2 separate regions of the Homo sapiens genome follow, and region 1 is linked to region 2. Evidence: promoter capture Hi-C in human tissues and cell types (Jung and others, 2019). All regions are on one chromosome and are shown on one strand. Each heading gives the region's core, a stretch centred on a gene start or on the middle of the fragment in contact. The rest is flanking DNA. Distances are from core to core; before and after follow the strand shown.

Region 1 (4,957 bases), core at 1,674-4,173, 400 kb after region 2:
TCCCTCTCTGAAGTTGTGACTCTTCACCTAATCAGCTTAAGTCCCATGGTTCATGTATTTCACACCAGTCAATCCAGGCTAAATCCAACTCTGCTGAATGTGGCTGGAACAAAACATACAACCCTGACAATTGATGTTATGTTAAACTCATGACCACTAACCTCAAGTGGGCCTTTAGTGTATCGTACATTTCCTTAATTTTTTCACTCTTCCCTATCCCCCAAACGTCTCACACCACCTCTACCATCCTCACTCTCAGCTAATAACTATGTTTTCAGTTTAACAGTGGAAATAAAAGCAATCAGACAAGAACACTCACAAGCTCTAGCATCTTCTCTGCCCACGCTCTGCCTTCCTCCTGGTTGGTGCTCCAGCGTCTGACCTCTTCACTAGTACCCTGGATCCCAGTGTCTTCACCTGCTCAGGCTCTGCTCTAGTCCATTCTCCTCCTCCTCTTCTCGTACAGCGTCAATTTTTCTACTTATCGTTCCCATGAGTATATAAATTTATCCTAGAATTTCTAATATTTTAAAACACCAAAATCCTCAAAAGCCCCCATCTCTTCAGTTACCCATCCGTTTCTCTGTGTTGGGAGACAATTCTCCATGGGTTTCTCACGTTTCTCACTATCTTACAAGTACATATGGTGATGGCTTTTGTTACAGGCTGTTTTCAGGATGAATAGCCTTAGATAGGTAATCCGTTCTCCAGAGCAACAGTTTGTTTAGCATCCAGTATAATATGTCTTCCTTCTAGACAAAGGTTTGATAGATTTACTTCTAGACCACTGTTTAAGATTCAGGCTCCCTAAACTTGGACCTCCCCTCCTGTAACTCCACCCAGCAAATGTGTATTCGAGGTCAGTACAGTATGTCTTCTGCCAGTATCCATGAAACTGGTAGCTTAACTTGTTACCTTGCAAGTAGGACAAAATCTCAGACTTTTCAGTCCTTAACACTTGGCCCCTTATTCACAGCTCCTGTTTCCAAGTTTATCTTGAATCCTCCTAGATTTACCCTGACCACTCCTTTATAACTGTTTTTTTCAAAATGACCTCACTGATGGTTAATCTCAGCATATATCCAACTTCATACAAATTATTAGTATTTGATATAGTGGCCACTCTTCTACTTCAAAATAAGTGTTTTCAGCTGGCTTCAGATACCACCCTCTACTGGTTTTCACCCTAACCCTGGTGGTTCCTTCTCAGTTTCATTTGCCAGTTCCTGCCCAGCAAACACTGGGGTGAGTGCTCGGGGCTCAGTCCTTGACATTCTTTATACTTTTTTTTCCTAGGTAATCTCACCTAGCTTTATGGCTTAAAATATTATCCCTGTGACAACTCCCAAATTTTTATTTCCTCTGAAATTGGGCTTCAGAGTCAGTCATCTTACCTCTAAACGCATAAGAGGCATGAGACAAACAGTTGCCACTTGGAATGACCATAGGGGAAGAAGGGTCCTTCTGGGAAAGCCTCATTACAGTCGGACCAGCAAGGCTGAAACTGAGATGGGAGATTTGCTGATTGTGCTGTTTCCCCTCCTGGTCCATCCTCCATCTTTCTACCCTGCTTTATCCCAGGAGGACGGCATCACCCGGGCTTCTGATTAGGTTCAGTTGATGGAGGCATCTTCAGGAGACAGCAATAAAGAGCTGAGGCTTTTCCCCCTCTGCTCCCTTTCCTGACAGTTCTGTGTTTCTCACAGTAGCTGCATCTTTGTAGAGCTTCAACATCCACTTAAGAGACACTCTTCCTTTTTATTTTTCTATCTCCTACAGGAAAGAGACCTTCCAACATTTTGGCTCTCACTGGGCTCTGAAACACCATTTCTTCCTTTGGTCCCTAGGGAGACAACAGCTTCTTGGCACTGCTGGTCTCTGGATTCCTTACCATCCGTTGTTTGTTCCCTTAATCCTTCTCTCATTCTCCAAGTCATCCTTTCATAAGGCGCTAATTCAGTTTACTGCTAAAGCCCTCACTGATAAAGCTGGTGAGGTCCACAGGTTAAAAATGGAAGGAATTCTATTCACCAGGCCCATAAAATCATATACAAAGACACACATATATAAGGGTTTATCTTTATTTTATAAAAACTGCTACACACACACATACACTCTCTCTCTCCCCTCTTGCTTTCCTCATTTGACCTAGAGAAGTTTGGAGTTTGTTCCCACACATTCTTTTCAAGGAAATACCATTCAGCCATGGTATGTTTTTACCACAATTTATTCATCCATTCCCTTACTGATGGTCTTTTTTTTGTTTGTTTTTTTGGTCCTTACCAAAAAATACAATATACATTAGTAAACATATAATCTTAAGTGCTGGCGCTTTTTATTCCTTAGGGATAGATTCCCAGGAGATTCCTAGGTTGTAAGAGTATATTAATGTTAAAACAGACTCACAATGTTGTCCAAGGAGGCTGTTACAATTTACATTTCTAAAAGCAGCTATGAAAATAACGTTTTCCCCTCCTTTGTGAGTAAGTAAGATGACAACTTAGACAAAAGCTTATTGGGCTATGGATGTTCTGGATAAATTTGTTCAGAAAGTCACTCAATATATAGTGTGACAGCACATCAATGATATCCAAAAATATTTTTTAAAAGCCAGTTTTTGGTTGCCATTTATAATTTCCAATACATGATTTGTGATTGATAGGGAAAGGCTGAACTTAAGAATTTGAAATCAAGTCTATAAAAGCAAATCTTTGAGTTACACAACAATTCTTGTTAATATCTGGAGAGACCACTGAAAAATCTGATTTTTATAAAAGTGTAAACATGTAAAGGAAAAGTAATAACTTATAACTCATGTTCCAAAGGGAAATGTTTTAGGTTGGCAACAGCAAAACTCAAGGAAGTAGAAATGCCTCCTTTAAACAACAAAATAGTGTAAAAATTTACTTCTAAAGGGGGTTATGCACGTGAAAAATTTAAAAAGCAATGAAACAGTTGACAGTTATTTAAAATAATTTTTCCTCTAAAGTCTCTGAAATGTAACATTTGTGAACTACAGAAGCATCCTACCATTTTTGCTAGACAATTCATGAAATATTAAGGGAAACAAGGAAAGACAAAAACAGGTGGTTTCTGTCTGTGTTACACAATATTTTGGTAACAGACATGCATTTGTATGCAAATATCCCACGGGAAAATAAGAGCATGACGAATGGGGATATTGTCTTTACACGGCAAACTCTTATTCTGTGGTGCATACTGAGTAGTACAGCTCATGTCTGCCTCCTTCACGTTATAGATCGGTTATTTCACATTTGCATATTTGTGTAAATAGTGCTTCTAGAAAATCTTCAGCAAACCAGAAGCAGGGAAAACTTCAACACTGTCTTCTGTTTCCTAAGAGGCAGCTCAAGAACAATGTTCATACCAACTGATATATGCCAGCAAGCAGTAGGGAAAGACGTAGGTTCCATGCTACTTTAAATGTTACACATTTCATTTGGAATGCATACTGGATTGCAGAGATACTGAAAAACACATGTGATGTTTAGTATGGAAAATCTTGTTATGTCCTAATTATCACAGAGGACAAGAATTTCAAATTCCCAGTGATTATGCTAAATTCACATGTGCAGATCTAAAGCATACCACTTGTGTTTTGTGGCATATCCACATAAAACCACTAAATTCATAGGATACTGTTTGTATATTTCTTATGCTGCTGTCTAGAATACTCAATTCATTCAAGATTTTAAAAAGCTCATTGTAGTACAACTGGGTATGGCTATTTACAACTGGATATATTCTGATATGTATTCTTTAGCTGGGTATCACATGTAACTTCCAGTATAATGTTCTCATGGGATCCTATTTTTAATACATTTTTGAGTTGAGAGATTGCATCTCAGTATGAATTCCCATGTTCCCTCAATACTGTCATGAGGTTTTTCACCCGCTTGAAGAGTTCTGGCAGGAGTTTTCCACAGTAAGACCTGGCTGGAGTTTCAGGGTTTCTCCCCGATGTGAACTCTCTGATGGACACTGAGTCGGGACTTCCTGCTAAAGGCCTTCCCACATTCGGAACACTCATATGGTTTCTCTCCTGTGTGGATTCGCAAGTGTAATCTAAGAGTTGACCTCTGGCTGAAAGTTTTGCCGCACTCAGTACATTCATAGGGTTTCTCTCCTGTATGAGTTCTCATGTGTATGATGAGCTGTGAGTTCTGGATAAAGGATTTTCCACATTCACTGCACTCATAGCGTTTCTCCCCCGTGTGAATCTTCTGATGTATGATAAGGTTTGACTTCTTAAAGAAGGTTTTTGCACATTCGTTACACTCATAGGGTCGCTCTCCTGTATGAATTCTCTGGTGTGTGGTGAGTTCAAACTTTTGGGCAAATGTCTTTCCACATTCACTGCACTCATAGGGCTTCTTCTCCATATGTGCTCTCTGGTGTACAATGAGGTTTGACTGGTGGGTGAAAGCTTTTCCACATTCCGGACACTCGAAAGGTTTCTCCCCAGTGTGAATTCTCTGATGTTTGATGAGGTTGGCCTTATGGGAGAAGGTTTTCTTACATACATTGCATTCATATGGCTTTTCTCCAGTATGTATTCTCTTATGACTAATGAGGAGTGACTTAAAGGAGAAAGCCTTGTCACAGTAAGTACAAATGAAAGGTTGAACCAAGTTTTTTATTTTCTGATGTTTAAAAATGGCTGCTTTATGGCTGAGGGCTTTTCCACTTTTATTGTATTCAGAATATTCTACTCCACTGTGGGTTTTCTCTTGCTTCAGGTAGAGAAGTGCTTTTCCAAATTCATTACACTCATCAGTCTGCTTTCCTGCATAGCTTCTATTACTATTAAGCAAGTCTGAATTATATTTCAAAGTTTTTTCATATAAGTCATATTTATAAGGTACTTGTCTTAAAGAAACAAAGTCTGTGTTCAGATTAAGTGCTTTTCCAAAGAGATCGCCTCTTTCCTCAATTG
Region 2 (4,636 bases), core at 2,002-4,501:
CCTAGTCACTTATTTTCTCCCACTAAGCCAACACCTCCAGGAAGTACAAAACACAGAGTCACCAAGGCTCTGTAGAAGTTGCAGATGTTATGAAAGAAGATTACCTCCCCAAACACGTTAAGGAAAGCCCAGGGTAACCACGGATGCCCAAGGCTTCCTCCCCTGGTGAAGACACAGCCCAGAGGCCTGGGAAGGAAGGTTAGAAGAGCCCCATGGGTGACAAGATCTCCTCAAGCAACACCACAGCTTCCAGAGCTACAGCTGTGGCAGACCAATGGCGTCCAGTGGGCAGGCCCTGGGGTGTCTCCTCAGGTTGAATACTGGCCTTAGGGAAGGAGCTTCCATTTCTCCCCTGCCTTTCTATCAGACACCAGGAAGTAGAGGTGGAGGACACTGGGAAAGAGGAAATCAGACCAAAAAATGGCCAGAGCTTTCCACCTTTAACAGAAATAAGGTCTGGAATTTGGCACAGGCCTCTTCTGGAGTCTTCAAGGATTTTCAACAGGAACCTATTTGGACAACATTGGGCTAGTTCCCAGGGCTTCTGAGAGCCTTCACTTTTAGAAGTATTACTTCTGGGAGTGGTAAATGAAACCTAGATTGGGTCACAAAGATAAGATGTGGCCAGAAACTCACACTCAGGGGAGAGGTGGGGGCTGGAATCTGGATCAGGGCCTACAACTACCCACTCAGTAACGGGAAAGGACTGACCAGGAGGTTAGACGGAGCCCATCCACTTTCCTTTTTCCACAGGGGACTAAAGCTGGGCTGTCAAACACACAGAAAACGGGAATTCTAATGCCTCTGCCTACATTCAGGCCACAAGTTACAGTCCCAAAGATTGCTTCCAGGCAGCACAATAGTCTGACAGTCAAAGCAAGTGCTACCAAGGGAGGTATAAGTCTGTAAAGAGACTTCAGAGCCCTTTACTGTGCCGCAGTCATTTTGTCAGACTTGAGGATCAGGCAGCTATAGACTCTTACAATGTCAAAGAGTTGACCAAGTTTGGGAGCAAGCAAACTGGATGATTAACTGAGTGAGCCTCAGCAGGGCCCACAGGCTCCCAGTGGAGGAGCATGCCAGGACTGCCTTCAGGGAAGAAAACCTCATTTCAGGCCTCAGTTCTACCTATAGCTTAAGACTAAATAAGTTCTCAACCGTTTTAAAAGATTCTTGGAGATCTTAGGCTGAGTTTCATCATTTTTTTAAAAGTCCAGGCCTTGTTCTATTTTCTGAATCCAAAATGCACTCTTATGTATTGCAGCCATTATTTTCCTGGAGCCCCTGATGTCAGGGAGCATAAAATCCAGATTTCTAGTCAGGACCCCTAAGAGTTTTCAGACTTCCAAAGTTTTGGAGTTCCGTAAGCAGCCAACCAGATGTCTAATACCAGAGGGCCCATCTAGTAAACACCTCTCACCTGGACTGTGGGACTGTCTTATCCACAAACAGGAAGATCGCCTTTTCAGAAGGAAGCTGGATCCTTTTCCTGATGATCCACATGAACTGAGCCACAGTGATATCAGATGGAACCAAGTACTTCCGTTTGTCAATGTCAACAATCTGAGAGCCTGAGACCTTTTCCACAATCACCTGGGAAAGTAAAGAGAGGTCAGGACTGTGTTTCCTAAAGCGAGGCTCTGGCCTCACATGGCTGAGGAGCTGATGAACAGAGTGTGGGCAAGGAGGTGGGTGGGGAACTGCATAGCAGGAGAAAATATGTCTTTGGCTTAATAAACCACACGCTCTGGAGGTTAAGAATTGATATAAATGTGTTACAGGGAAACAGTAAGTGCTTTTCTGTGGTCAATTATGTAAGAGAAATGCAGCCCTTACCACTAAGCTTTTCCACATTTTATCTGGGCAGACCTAAGAATATCTGGGGAGGGTTTCATCCATGGCCCGTTACTCCAGGACCCCAGAATGGATCCACCTTCACACTACAGGAAACACTACTGTGTTCCCAAGGAACACAGGAGACAAGAATGGATGGACTAATTGGAATGCCTGGAATTTTAGCCAGCCAAGAACCAAGTTCTTCATTTGGCCTGTTGCTCCTCTCTGAACAAGTTTCAAATCCGTCCCTCCTACTCCTTTCCCCAGACAAATTATTCACAAGCAAAGAGCTACAATAACAGGCCTTAATGTCCATTAAAAATTAATAACGATTACAAAACTATCTCCCCAACCATGGAAGAAATATAACATTATATTTATTATTGACTAAGAAGAAAATATGGCAGAAGGGGTTTTCAGCGGCTTTTCACATTATTTTGGTCAGGCAAGGATGACAGGGTCAAGGTGAGATAACGGAGCTAGAAGTTAGGTAAAGATGGAGACAAAGTAAAAGATGAACGTCCTGAGACTCAAGTACCACTTCCAAGACCAAAATGACAGTCTCCCTCCACCACCATTCCCAAAAGTGGCAGTGACCTGTTGCCCTGTCCTAGAACATCGTTCCTTACATAATTGGCCAGGGAGCCCCGAGGCTGCAGACGGCTCGCTGGCCTAGATCGGGAGATTCAGCACTGAGGCACCCTGAACAGCACCAGCCCGAGCCCCTCACGCCCCGGCCCTGGGCGGCCTCATCCCGGTCTGGCCCGTCAGCTACTGTAACTGGGACTGGAACCTCAACTTGTCAACTGTTGAATGGCCTGGGGCCTATCACGGGTCCCAGACGACAGAGGTGACAGCGAGGTGAGGGGGCGGAGAGTCCACTCACCGGAACCCTGTCGGGATATTTCGCTCGAATCTTCGCGGACTCCACGCATCTGTGTTCTGTGGGAGAAACAAACGGGGCTGACGGCCGCGCCTGCCCACCGGTCGGTTCCCGGCCCCCGGCCCTCCTCCTCCTGCGCCCTGCGTACAACCCAGGCCCTGGTTCCGGCGTCCCCGGGGCCGCGGTCCTGTCCCCTACTAGCTCCCAGCAAGGCCCGCGGAGGGTGACATGGGGTCAGGGGGCCGCTGCCCGAGGCACCAGGGCATGGGCGACTCCAGCCCGCAGCAGGGCATCCGCCCCGCTCCACTCGGCCCAGGGCCGCCCGAGTGGGGGAGGGGGCCCACCCGCCGCCCCAGCCCCCAGCAGCCGGGCCGACGACCAAGTGCTTACCCAGCGAGTGGTCCTCCTTGAACATCCACTTCATGGCGGCGGCGGGAAGGGGACGGAACCGGCTCGCGGAGCCGCGGAGCTCAGCGCACCGAGCACAACAACAACGACGGCGGCAGCGGCAGCGGCAGCGACGGCGGCGACTACACGGCAGGCGGGACTTCCGGCTGTCGGAGCCTAGCAACCGGCCGGGGGCGGGGCTTCCGGCGCCATTTGTCAGGGCGCCACGCCAAGGGGCGGGGCCGCACGTAAAGGGGCGGGGCCGCGGAGGACCCCTTTGGGGGCTCCTGGGCTGCGGTGGCGAAGAAGTTGGTTATGGGGACGTCTGTGAGCAGTATCTGCGACATTGCTCGCAGGAATGTTCGGGGAACTGGTGACAGGAGTGGGGTCTCGGGAGCGTTGGTGGCGGAAAACGTCTGGCTGATAGTGTAGGGCTCTTACTGAGGGCTGTTTGGGGGTGTGGCTGATAGCTGAGGGCTCTTAGAGCGGTTCATAGGGGAAGTCTGGGGAATTGGTGACAAGAACGGTCTTTAGGGGTAAGAATGACATAAGGAGGGCTTTCTAGAGCTTGGCGATAACAAGGGAGCTGTTTAGGGCGTTGACAGTTTGGGGAGTATTGCTCGGAGTGGTGACAGGTTGGGGGCTCATTATGGGAGGGGAGGGTGTTTGAGGACACTGTTGGAAGCGGCACTGAGGACAACCCGGAGGTCCGTATTAGGGACAGCCGTAGTAGGTTGTCTTGGACCTAGAAATTGAATTTAAACAAATCCCGTTTTCTTCCTTTATTCGTGAATAAATATTTGAATAAACATTTACGAAAAGGTATCACAAATGCACATTTGAGGCGGGGTACGGTGGCTCACGCCTGTAATCCCAACACTTTGGGAGGCCGACGCGGGTGGATCACCTGAGGTCAGGAGTTGAAGACCAGCCTGGCCAACATGGTGAAACCCCGTCTCTACTAAAAATACAAAAATTAGCCAGGCATGGTAGTGGGCGCCTGTAGTCCCAGCTCCTCGGGAGGCTGAGGCAGGAGAATCGTTTGAACCAGGGAGGTGGAGGTGGCAGTGAGCCGAGATCACACCACTGCACTCCAGCCTGGGCAACAGAGCAAGACTCCGCCTCAAAAAAAAATGCACATTTGAGGAGTGTAACATCACTGATCACAGACCCCTTAATTTTAACTGGCAGAGGAGTTAGAGGTGACTGTCAGACTCGGAGAATTCCCCTGAGAGCTGGTCATGAGATGGGTTTCCTTATTTGGCTGTGGGAGTGGTTTAGCAATCACAGCCTGAGCTGTGTGTGTGTCACCTGCCCGGACATATGCTTTGAGGTTCTCCAATCAGTGATGTAATGCCTTTTTTCCAAGCAGACTCATCAAGGCAGTCTGGTCTGGGTCACCATCTGTTTATAAGCTGCTGAACATGTAGCAGGAATATTCACTTAATTGGGCACATGAACCCTGCCACGTGCTTGTGATTCTGATGCACCTGTAAAGCCTGTATGTTTGAATGTGGTAGTTCATCATTT

The links. Contacts are between HindIII fragments. The study calls those that stand out against the background at their distance.
Region 1: a fragment that was not itself captured here is called in contact with the fragment with the promoter of GABARAPL2 in region 2 in 1 of the 25 tissues and cell types used here (mesenchymal stem cells).

What each region holds. Positions count from the first base shown.
Region 1 is chr16:75,169,343-75,174,299 of GRCh38, reverse strand. It overlaps ZFP1 (ZFP1 zinc finger protein), which reads right to left. Exons shown (of 4, transcript NM_153688.4): 4 at 2,066-4,957. The coding sequence ends at 3,966. Among named protein-coding and RNA genes, the nearest start is that of ZFP1, 23 kb to the right of the region's middle. The HindIII fragment of the contact is 4,139 bases long and covers 854-4,957 here.
Region 2 is chr16:75,564,994-75,569,629 of GRCh38, reverse strand. GABARAPL2 (GABA type A receptor associated protein like 2) reads right to left here and starts at 3,251. Exons shown (of 4, transcript NM_007285.7): 1 at 3,110-3,251; 2 at 2,723-2,778; 3 at 1,421-1,593. The coding sequence starts at 3,143. RefSeq lists enhancers at 136-235, 2,036-2,789 and a silencer at 2,779-3,188. The HindIII fragment of the contact is 9,271 bases long and covers 1-4,636 here.